Regions from separate parts of the Homo sapiens genome. Here region 1 is linked to region 2. Evidence: promoter capture Hi-C in 16 types of primary human blood cells and fetal thymus (Javierre and others, 2016). All regions are on one chromosome and are shown on one strand. The core of a region is centred on a gene start or on the middle of the fragment in contact, and the rest is flanking DNA. Distances in the headings are between cores, read along the strand shown.

What was found. Contacts are between HindIII fragments. The CHiCAGO score rates a contact against its expected background, and 5 or more counts as called.
Region 1: a fragment that was not itself captured here is called in contact with the fragment with the promoter of MORN3 in region 2 in 1 of 17 cell types (total B cells); the score reaches 5.6 in total B cells.

Annotation. Positions count from the first base shown.
Region 1 is chr12:121,556,246-121,562,265 of GRCh38, reverse strand. All of the region lies in intron 4 of KDM2B (lysine demethylase 2B), which reads left to right. Among named protein-coding and RNA genes, the nearest start is that of KDM2B-DT, 21 kb to the left of the region's middle. The HindIII fragment of the contact is 3,944 bases long and covers 1,856-5,799 here.
Region 2 is chr12:121,665,918-121,671,665 of GRCh38, reverse strand. MORN3 (MORN repeat containing 3) reads left to right here and starts at 2,012. Exons shown (of 6, transcript NM_173855.5): 1 at 2,012-2,327. The coding sequence starts at 2,183. The region is part of intron 1 of LOC105370034 (a long non-coding RNA gene); the gene reads right to left. The HindIII fragment of the contact is 76,456 bases long and covers 1-5,748 here.

The DNA of each region.
Region 1 (6,020 bases), core at 2,578-5,077, 110 kb after region 2:
GGTGATCTGTTCGCCTTGGCCTCCCAAAGAGCTGGGATTACAGGCGTGAACTACTGTGCTGGCCAGGCCTTTTTAAAGTTTTTTTTTTCCCCAAGACAGAGTCATGGAAAAAAAGTCACCCATGTTGGAGTGCAGTGGCTTGATCTCGGCTCGCTGCAACCTCTGCCGCCCAGGTTCAAGCTTCTCCTGCCTCAGCCTCCTGAGTAGCTGGGATTATAGGCTCGCACCACCACGCCCGGCTAATTTTTGTATTTTTAGTAGAGACAGGGTTTCGCCATGTTGGCCAGGCTGGTCTCGAACTCCTGACCTCAGGTGATCCGCCTACCTCAGCCTCCCAAAGTGTTGGGATTACAGGCATGAGCCACCGCTCCCGGCCTAAAGTTGGTTTAAAATCATAGACTTTTTCCATTTTAAGCTCGGGAAGGAGTCTTAGAGTTCTTCCAGTCCTGCTTCCCCATTTCACAAATGGGAAAAACTGAGGCCTGTAGACAAATTATTTTTGAGTTGCTCAGATAGTGCTTGGCACATCAGAGTCACATGTAGGTTTGACTTTCAGTGATTGGGAGAACACAATGCTTCCAATAGACCCCCAGAAGAAAAGCAACTTGGGGCTGGACATAGATGGGTGTGGTTCCGGGCACATTGAGTTGGATCTCATGAGAGAGGTCAAGGCCAGAGCGGCAGGTAGGGGAGGCATCCAATTGCCAGGACAGATAGAAATGCAGGGAGAGGGGCCAGGCGCCATGGTGCACCCCTGTAACCCCAGCACTTTGGGAGGCTGAGGCGGGCGTATCACTCGAACTCAGGCCTCACTGCTATTTCAAAACAGTAGAGCAGAGTCGGATTTGAACCTGTGACCAGTGCTCTTGCTAATCAGTGCTACCTGTGTGACACGGATGAGGAACAAAATACAAAACCAGTCCAGAAATGTGAGGATGCTGGAGAAGGTTCCAGAACTGTGATGTGGAAGAGTTCTGTGAGCTCTCGGAAGAGCCGGGCTCTGGGGAGTTTGGGGTCGCGCCCGTGTATGTTTCACATTAGCCTTCAAGATGACTTTCAGCAGCCTCGTCCTGGCCCCGAGCCCGAGGCTTTCGGAGCTGACGGATGGAACCTTCAAAGCAGGGGCCACAGGGCCATGGACTAATTTCCGCAGCTGGAACCTGTTGGATGTGTGTGCAGCCCGGGAGCCAGAACACCGATGATCCTGGGGTGGGTGGGCGGCGGAGGGAGGGAGGCTGCTGGCCTGCCTAGGAACTCCAGGCACTGCCCCATGTGGAAAATTTCTCCTGTAACCCACTGACTTCAGGAACCCGAGAGCCCCAGCAGTGTGGATCCCTTGCAGGTCTGAAGGGACGCTTGTCCCTGTCAGCTGCTCTAGGGATGGCTGCTCCTAAAGGCTGGGAGGGCTGCATTCCATTCTTGGCACTGATCTGTCCCCTCCATCCCTTTAGGCTACCTGCCTCCTCCCCGGTGCCAAACCTCTTGCTTAGAGACTCAGCCTGTGTGCCTGGTTCCCTTTGCTCCTGTGGCAGATCAGACCGGGAGGCTGGAGGGCTCATTCTTCATCTCTCAGCTCAGGCCAAAAGGGACTGGCGGCCCCCGTCTCTTCCTCTGCCCCCACTGCCCCTGCCCCTGCCCACTTTATACATTTAAGGGAAGTGATCCGAGTATTCAGGAACTGAAACTCAGTGCCTCGCCCCTGGGAAAGGACCCAAAAATGCCCCAACCCAGTGAATTTCAAAGGGAAACCCCAGGGATCTAGGTCTGAATTCTGAGCACCCCCCACCCACCTCCTGCATCAGCCTGAGCTGCTTGTTTTGTTTTTATTTATGTGTATTTGGCTGTCATCAAAGCTTCTGTTTGAAGAAGGGGTTCTGTGGTGAAGGAAAGAAAAAGTATAAAGTCAGTTTCTTCCTGCCTTTACACACAAGGCAACTGAGTTCTGGAAATGGGTCAGTCCAGGCTGGGTGAGGTGGCTCATGCCTGTCATCCCAGTGCTTTGGGAGGCTGAGGCAGTAGGATCACTTGAGGCCAGGAGTTTGAGACCAGCCTGGTCTCAAACAGAGTGAAACCCTGTCTCTACAAAAGAAAATAAAGCCAGGCATGGTGACTCATGCCCATAGTCCCAACCTCCTTGGGAGGCTGAGGTCGGAGGATCGCTTGAGCCCAACAGGTCGAGGCTGCAGGGAACCATGATGGCACCATTGCACTCCAGCCTGGGTGATAGAGCGAGACGTCTCCTAAATAAAAACATATAAAAACACAGTGACTCCTTAAAATTATTAAATACCCATTTTCAATGATCAAATTTCTACTTGTTTCATATATATATCATAGATGTTACTCCTTTTTTTTTTTTTTTGAGATGGAGTTTTGCTCTTGTTGCTCAGGCTAGAGTGCAGTGGCACAATCTCAGCTCATCTCAACCTCTGCCTCCCGGGTTTAAGCAGTTCTCCTGCCTCAGCCTTCCGAGTAGCTGGGATTACAGGCATGCGCCACCATGCCTGACTAATTTTGTGTTTTTTTTAGTAGAGACGGAGTTTCTCCATGTTGGTCAGGCTGGTCTCGAACTCCCGACCTCAGGTGATCCTCCTGCCTCGGCCTCCCAAAGTGCTGGGATTACAGGCATGAGCCACTGCACCTGGCCTGGTTGAGCTGCATTTTAAGTCTCTTTCACTCTCTGGATTCTCCCTACATCTCCTGCCTCCCTGGTCCCCTCTGTTGCTATCACCGTGCCACTCTGGGTAGTGTTCTGTCACGTCTGTGTTTCCTGCTGCCCCGTGGGGGCTGGACCCCAGCTGTGTGGCATGAACAGGTGACCTGTCCATTTCTGTTTCCCTGGGGGAGGGGAGGTCCGTGAAGCCCAGGTGCCCAACAGAACTGACTTTCCTTCCTCCTCCCACCACTTCCCCTCCCACCCCTCCCATAGACCTGGAAGTCCAGCTTCCAGGACACCTGGGGAGCTGCTCAGAGCTCCCGGCACACTAAGGAAACTCTTCTTAGAACCAAGCCTCCCGACCTTCTGCTCCTAAGACGGTCACTTGGCCTGCCCAGGCCTCTTGCCTATACGCTTCCCCCTATGACTTCAGCCCCAGCTGCTCCCCACAGCCCTTCCCTGGTCTGAGGCAGGCATACAGCTGAGTTAAGCCAGTCCCTTAAGTCCTGACTCCCTTGCATCAGAGGGCGGAGCAGGCTGAGGTGTAGTCAGCGGGGACCCTGGCTTGGCCCTGGCCTGACTGGGAGTCTTGAACACTGGTCCCAAGTGGCATCTGTGATGTGAAAAGCTGCAAAGTAGCGGAGGCCAAGAGGGTGCCTAGGAGGTGCTGGGGAGGGCGGCGATGGCAGTGGGAGGCATGGTTATTCCTCAGAAAAGGAGGCTGGGTGCCATGGTTCATGCCTGTAATCCCAGCACTTTCAGAGGCTGAGGTGGGCAAATCACTTGAGGTCAGGAATTCGAGACCATCCTGGCCAACATGGCTAAACCCCATCTCTACTAAAAATACAAAAATTAGGCTGGGCGCAGTGTCTCACGCCTGTAATCCCAGCACTTTGGGAGGCCGAGGCGGGCAAATCACTTGACGTCAGGAGTTTGAGACCATCTTGGCCAACATGAGGAAACCCCGTCTCTACAAAAAATACAAAAATTAGCTGGGGCATGGTGGCATGCGCCTGTAGTCCCAGCTACTTGGGAGGCTGAGGCAGGAAAATCGCTTGAACCCAAGAGGCGGAGGCTGCAGTGAGCCGAGATCGCACCACTGTACTCTAGCCTGGGCAACAGAGTGAGACTCCGTCTCAAAAAAAAAAAAAAAAGAAAAAGAAAAGGAAACACAGGCCTTCTCCACACATGTCTGTCCTTCTGTGTTGAGCCGTGCTGTCCCAGGGCTGCTCAGGACCTACCAGGTGATTCCAGGTGGGGCTTCATGGCTTCATCTTTTTTGTTACACGTGCCCACCCAGAACCACCCCCAGGTCAGGTCTTTAGTTCACCTGCCATTTGTCTGTGAAGTCGTGTGTCAGATGCCACACAGAACATAAAAGTAAATAACAGCACTCATTCCTCATGCGACAAAGAGTGAGCTCCTAGCCTGCACCAGTCTCTGTTCTAGAAATCTGGACTAGAGTAGCGATCAAGACAGGCAAGCCTCCTGCCCTCACGGCACTCACAGAGCAGCAGGGTGGAAAGACAAGAAACAAGTAACCAAGAAATACGGTATTTAGGATGAAGTGGTATGAGGTCATCAGTGGGTGACACCTTTCTGTTTGTGAAGCTACTAGGTAAACTGCGATTTCGTTATAGAAGGTGTTGGCCCCGTGATCCGCTTATACCAGGCTCTGGGAGGGAGGCAAGGGGAGGGACCAGCCCTCCCCTGTGTAAATATGTCACATTTATGGAGCCATGTAGGTATACCCAGTCATTCTCTCACTAACCCTTCGATTAGTTTCCTAGGCTGTCATAACAAAGTACCACAAAGTGAGTGGCTTAAAACCACAGAAGTTTATTCTCTCACACTTCTGCAGGCTAGAAGTCCAAAATTAAGGGTGTCTGTAGGGCTACATTTCCCCCTGAAGTCTCTAGGGGCAGGTCCTTCCTTGCCTTCTCTGGCTTCTGGTGGTGGCTGGCAGTGCTTAGTGCGCCTTGGCTTGTAGCTGCGTCACTCTGATCTCTGCCTCCGTCTTCACGTGGCTGTCTTCCTTCTGTGTGTCTGTGTCCACATTTCCTTTGTCATGGCTGGGCACGGTGGCTCACGCCTGTAATCCCAGCACTTTGGGAGGCTGAGGTGGGTGGATCACCTGAGGTCAGGAGTTCAAGACCAGCCTGGGCAAAATGGTGAAACCCCGTCTCTACTAAAAATACAAAAAAATTAGCCGGAAGTGGTGGTAGGCGCCTGTAATCCCAGCTAATCGGGAGGTTGAGGCAGGAGAATCGCTTGAACCCAGGAGGCAGAGGTTGCAATGAGCTGAGATTGTACCACTGAACTCCATCCTGGGGAACAGAGTGAGACTCTGTCTCAAAAAAAAAAAAAAAAAAAAAAAATTCTCTTGTCTTATTAGGCCTACCCTAATCCCATATGATCTCATTCTAGCTTGATCACGTCAGCAAAGACCCTGTATCACAGATATTAGGGACTGAACATATATTTTGGGGGAGTGCAGTTCAACTCACAGTACCCCTTGAGGTACGTGGGTAGCCAAAACCGTTAGCAAATTACAGGGAACTGGGTAGGCTGAGGAGGGGAGGGTGCTGATTTCTGGTTAGTGCCTTCCCTGCGTCTACTGTTCGATCTGGGTCATAATCTTAGCTAATCCTACAACCTTTTTTTCTTTTTAAAATTACATTTTTATTGATTTACTGGCTTAGTTCACTTTGTGTTGCTATAAAGGAATGCCTGAGGTTGGATTTTTTTTTTTTTTTTAAGGACAGAGTCTCACTCTGTCGCCCAGGTTGGAGTGCAGTGGCACCATCTCAGCTCACTGCAACCTCCGCTTCCTGGATTCAAGTGATTCTCCTGCCTCAGCCTCCTGAGTAGCTGGGGTTACAGGTGCGCATAACCAGGCCTGGCTCAATTTTTGTATTTTTAGTAGAGACAGGGTTTCACCATGTTGTCCAGGTTAGTCTCAAACTCTTGACCTCAAGTGATCCACTTGCCTCGGCCTCCCAAAGTGCTGGGATTACAGGCTTGAGCCATGGTGCCCAGCTGGGTTGGATTATTTATAAAGAAAGGTTTATTTGATTCAGCTCTGCAGGCTGTACAGGAAGCATGGAGCCAGCATCTGCTTCTGGTGAGGACTTCAGGAAGCTTCCAGTCATGATGGAAGGGGAGGGTGAGCTGGTGTGTCACATAGCCACAGAGGGAGCAAGAGAGAGAGGAGGGAGGTGCCAAATGCTTCTAAATAATCCAGCCTGTAGCCCCAGCTATTTGGGAGGCTGAGGTAGGAGGATCGCTTGAGCCCAGGAGTTTGAGGCTACAGTGAGCCATGTTCAAGCCACTGCACTCCAGCCTAATGAGCAGAGTGAGGCTT
Region 2 (5,748 bases), core at 763-3,262:
TCGTGATCTGCCCACCTCGGCCTCCCAAAGTGCTGGGATTACAGGCGTGTGCCACCGCTCCCGGCCTTGCTAATTCCTATTTTTAACAGAGACCTTGGAGCTCAGTCAACTCTAAGCCATAGCATCTAGCTAAGACTTAAATTGGTTCTTTCAGTGTTTTCATTTTTACATTTATTATTGCCTTAGGGTACCTGCTACTGGTTTTCTATTTATAATAATGATACGTAAAGTCTCCATTCTTCTAATTTTTTTTTTTTTTTGAGATGGAGTCTTGCTCTGTTGCCCAGGCTGGAGTGCAGTGGCGCGATCTCGGCTCATTGCAAGCTCCGCCTCCCGGGTCATGCCATTCTCCTGCCTCAGCCTCCCGAGTAGCTGGGACTACAGGCGCCCGCCACCACGCCCGGCTAATCTTTTGTATTTTTAGTAGAGACGGGGTTTCACCATGTTAGTCAGGATGGTCTCAATCTCCTGACCTCGTGATCCACCCGCCTCGGCCTCCCAAAGTGCTGGGATTACAGGCGTGAGCCACCGCGCCCAGTCTTTTTTTTTTTTTGAGACAGAGTCTCACTCTGTCTCGCCCAGGCTGGAGTGCAGTGGTGCAATCTCGGCTCACTGCAGCCTTCTCCTCCCTGGTTCAAGCGATTCTCCTGCCTCAGCCTCCCGAGTAGCTGGGATTACAGGCGCCCGCCACCACACCCAGCTAATTTTTGTATTTTTAGTACAGACAGGGTTTCGCCATGTTGGCCAGGCTGGTGTTGAACTCCTGACCTCGGGTGATCCATCCGCCTCGGCCTCCCAAAGTGCTGGGGATTACAGGCGTGAGCCACTGAGCCCGGCCTATTTTATTATTATTTTTTAAGACTGAGTCTTGCTCTGTCTCCCAACCTGTAGTGCAATGGTGCAATCTCGGCTCACTGCAACCTCCGCCTCCTGGATTCAAGCTGTTCTCATGCCTCAGCCTCCTGAGTAGCTGGGATTACAGGCGCGTACCACCAGGCCTGGCTAATTTTTGTATTTTTAGTAGAGACAAGGGTTCACCATGTTGACTAGGCTGGTCTCGAACTCCTGACCTCAGGTGATCCACCCGCCTCGGCCTCCCAAAGTGCTGGGATTACAGGCATGAGCCACTGCGCCTGGCCCTCCTTTTTTCAATATATGTATTGATTTTTTTAAAGTGAGTTAACTTATTTTTATTTTCTTCTTGAGAAAAGTTCTCACTCTGTCATCCAAGCTGGCGTGCAGCGGCATGATCTCGGCTTACTGCAACCTCTGCCAAGTGAGTTAATTTACATATAAAGATTAATAGTACATGTGATATTTGGAAATGGGAGAAGAAAAAATCCCAACGGCATAGAATTTAGGACCTGAGATTGTTTCCCCACTCCCAGCTTTTGCTCTGCCTATTTTCTTTGCCTGGAATTATTTTTCCCTACTCCTAGGTGTGATTGTCAAAATATGTAACCCATATTTTGGGTTCATATTTTGGATTCATATTTGGCTCAGTGGCTCATGCCTGTAATCCCAGCACTTGGAGAGGCTGAGGTGGATGGATCATTTGAGATCAGGAAATTGAGACCAACCTGCCCAGCATGGTGAAACCCCCGTCTCTACTAAAAATACAAAAATTAGCCAGGCGTGGTGGTGGGCGCCTGTAATACCAGCTACTTAGGAGGCTGAGGCACGAGAATCACTTGAACCCAGGAGGCAGAGGTTGTAGTAAGCCGAGATGGTGCCACTGCACTCCAGCCTGGGCAACAAAGCAAGATTCCATCTCTAAATAAATAAATAAATACATAAATAAATAAAAATATTTAGAAGACATAAAAAAAAAAATATATATATATATATATATGTATATATGACCGCCACCCCCTCCCTGGGGGCAGCTTCTCCCTGATGCCATCACAAACCCTCCTGCTCTACTGGTTTCCCTAGATTCCCAAGTAATTGTGCCATCAGACCCCCTGGGAGGGGGCCCCAGGAGAGGCAAGGGAGGGGCCAACCAAAGGTCAGTCCAGCACTAAAGGATCCCCACTAAGGGCTGTTCACCTGCCCCAGGGACTCAGAACACACATGACTCTCCCCACTTGAGCTCAGGATCCCGGCATTACACGGGGCGCGCTGAGCCCCAGATGTCCCTAACCCCTTTCCAGCACCCTCCAGCCTTGCAGAAGCAGCCACCATGCCAGTCTCTAAGTGCCCAAAAAAGTCGGAGTCCCTGTGGAAGGGGTGGGACCGGAAGGCCCAGAGGAACGGCCTGCGGAGCCAGGTATACGCTGTGAATGGCGACTACTATGTGGGCGAGTGGAAGGACAACGTGAAACACGGTGAGTGGGACTCCGGGACGGGCGGCCGGAGTGGGGTCAGAGCCACAGTGGGCAACAGGGCCAGGAAGGCAGAGTGCAGAGCTCACTGGGGACATGAGATGTGTCCCCAAGGCTCCCCCAGGGTGAGCGCTGGCCCAGGCCAGCTGGGGGCCTTCACATGCTGGGGCTTCTGAACAAACTCAGCCCTGACTTCAACTGAGTGAGGGTCTCAGGACCAGCAGTGGACAGAGGGTCTTGAGAAACTGGCCTGCCCCCGGGGCTCTGGGACCTAGGGGGCTCAGTTCCTGCCTTCTGAGACCTGGGTTAAGCACTGGGCTGGCTGGCAACAAGAAAAGCCACGCCCCTGAAGCCAGCTTGCAGTGGGGTTCTGGGCTTCGCATTCAGCTGTGATGCTCTGCAGAGGGCTGAGCGCCAGGCACAAGGGAGGACCCCCTACTCCATCCCACAAGGAGGAGCTGGGGCTCCAAGTCTGACCAGCAGGGGGCAAAGGGGTCCTGTTGATACAAACTAAATCCTGACTGGGGAAAAAAATAAAGAAAAAAGAGCTTTTATTTTAAAATGTGGCACTGCTGCTCACTCCAGTCTTGCAATTCCAGACTCTGTACTCTTTTTTTTTGAGGGGACAAGGTCTTGCTCTGTCTCAAAAAAACAGGCTGGAGTGCAGTGGTGCCTTCATAGCTCACTGCAGCCTCGAGATCCTGGGCTCAAGCAATCCTCCTGTCCAAGCCTCCTGAATTGCTGGGATTACAAGTGGGAGTCACTGTGCCTGGCTAGATTCTGTGCTCTTTTTATTTTTTTAGACGGAGTTTCACTCTTGTTGCCCACGCTGGAGTGCAATGGCACGATCTTGGCTCACCGCAACCTCTACCTCCCGAGTTCAGGCGATTCTCCTGCCTCAGCCTCCAGAGTAGCTGGGATTACAGGCATGTGCCACCACGCCTGGCTACTTTTGTATTTTTAGTAAGACGGGGTTTCTCCGTGTTGGTCAGGCTGGTCTTGAACTCCCGACCTCGAGTGATCCGCCCGCCTCGGCCTCCCAAAGTGCTGGGATTACAGGCGTTTAGCCACTGCGCCCAGCCCAATTCTGTGCTCTTAACCATCCTGCTCTCCTGCCTTGCTGGGTTAAGTGCTTTGCAGTCAAATAAACCTGGGTTAGGATCCCAGTTCCAGGCTGGGTGTGGTGGCTCACATCTGTAATCCCAGCACTTTGGGAGGCCGAGGCAGGCAGATCACCTGAGGTCAGGAGTTCAAGACCACCTTGGCCAATATGGTGAAATCCCATCTCTACTAAAAAAATACAAAAATGGGCCAGGTGGGGCTGGGCGTGGTGGATCACGCCTGTAATCCCAGCACTTTGGGAAGCCGAGGCGGGCGGATCATGAGGTCAGGAGATTGAGACCATCCTGGCTAACACAGTGAAACCCTGTCTCTACTAAAAATACAAAAAATTAGCTGGCTGTGGTAGTGGGCGCCTGTAGTCCCAGCTACTCGGGAGGCTGAGGCAGGAGAATGGCGTGAACCCAGGAGGCGGAGCTTGCAGTGAACCGAGATCTCGCCACTGCACTCCAGCCTGGGCGACAGAGCAAGACTCCGTCTCCAAAAAAAAAAGAAAAAAAAAAAGACTTGGAGGAGAGGGAGTAACTGAGTGGATGTTTGCAGGAACTAGCATAGAAGGTGGCAGGACCAGCTGGAGCAGAGAATATACCTGGGGTGTTCAAGGAACAGCCAGGAGGACGGTGTGGGTGAAACAGAGTGAGGAAGAGGAGGAGGTCAGAGAGGTTGCAGGCCGGGGACAGTGGCTCACACCTGTAATCCCAGCACTTTGAGAGGCCGAGGCAGGCAGATCACTTGAGGTCAGGAGTTCAACACCAGGCTGGCCAACATGGCAAAACCCCATCTCTACTAAAAATACAAAAAATTAGCTGGATCGAGTGGTGAACGCCTGTAATCCCAGCCACTAGGGAGGCTGAGGCAGGAGAATTGCTTGAACCCAGGAGGTGGAGGTTACAGTGAGCCAATATCATGCCACTGCACTCCAGCCTGGGTGCCAGAGCAAGACTCTGCCTCAAGATAAACAGTCCTGGCGCGGTCGCTTATGCCTGAAATCCCAGCACTTTGGGAGGCCGAGACAGGCATATCGCCTGAGGTCAGGAGTTCGAGACCAGCCTAGCCAACATGGTGAAACTCCGTCTCTACTAAAAATACAAAAATTAGACCAGACATGATGGCAGGCACCTGTAATCCCAGCTACTTGGGAGGCTGAGATAAGAGAATTGCTTGAACCTGGGAGGAGGAGGTTACAGTGAGCTGAGATTGCGCCATTGCACTCCAGCCAGGGAGTTTCCAAGAACGAATCTCCATCTCAAAAAAAAAAAAAAAAAAAAAAGAGGTTGTGGGTTAAAGAAGAAGGGTAGTCAGATCATATAGGACCCTGTCAGCCATGGTAAGAACTTTGGATTTGACTCTGTGACACAGGGAGGGTTTAGAGCATAGGAATGACATGATCTGATTCATGTCCCATAACACCCATGCTGGCTATTTAGTTGTGAATGAGGTGGGGGCAGGAAGACCCCTCAGAGGCCCTTGCAGACATCCAGGTGAGAGACATCCAGCAGGAGAACGAAGCACCCCATAAAAGCAAATTATTAGAAAGGCAGGAATGGAGCCATCCTCAGGGAAGGCTTAGGACAACTTCTCCATCTATCTGCTTCTCCCTGGCTGGCCTTTTTTCTCTCCTCCTGCAAGTATACCTCTGCATGATACACATGGCTGCCAGCATCTTAGTGACAGGATGGAGGAATCCTCTTCACTTCCTGATATAGTTTTGTCTTGTTTGAGACAGAGTTGTGCTCTGTCGCCCAGGATGGAGTGCAGTGCTGCGATCTCGGCTCACTGAAACCTCCACTTCCCAGGTTCAAGTGATTCTTGTACCTCAGCCTCCCAAGTAGCTGGGACTAAAGGCACACACCACCACGCCCAGCCAATTTTTGTATTTTCTGGTAGAGATGGGGATTCACTTGCCAGGTGCGGTAGCTCACGCCTGTAATCCCAGCTCTCAGGGAGGCAGAGGTGGGAGATAGCTTGAGCCCAGGAGTTCAAGGCCTGCTTGGGCAATATAGCGAGACCCCGTTCTCCACAAAAAGGAAGAAAAAAAAAGACAAATAAATAAATAAGTGAGACACGGATTCACCATGTTGGCCAGGCTGGTTTCGAATTCCTGACCTCAAGTGATCTGCCCACCTTGGCCTCCCAAAGTTCTGGGATTACAAGTGTGAGCCATCATGCCCAGCCTTTTCCCCTTATTTTCCTACTTGATAAGTTTTGGTTTGCCTCACTGTGTCCTGTGCAGACTCTCAGCTCTTCCATCCCCTGTATTAAATTTTCTCTATTTGAAATAACTAGCATTTCAAACTGTCCTAGG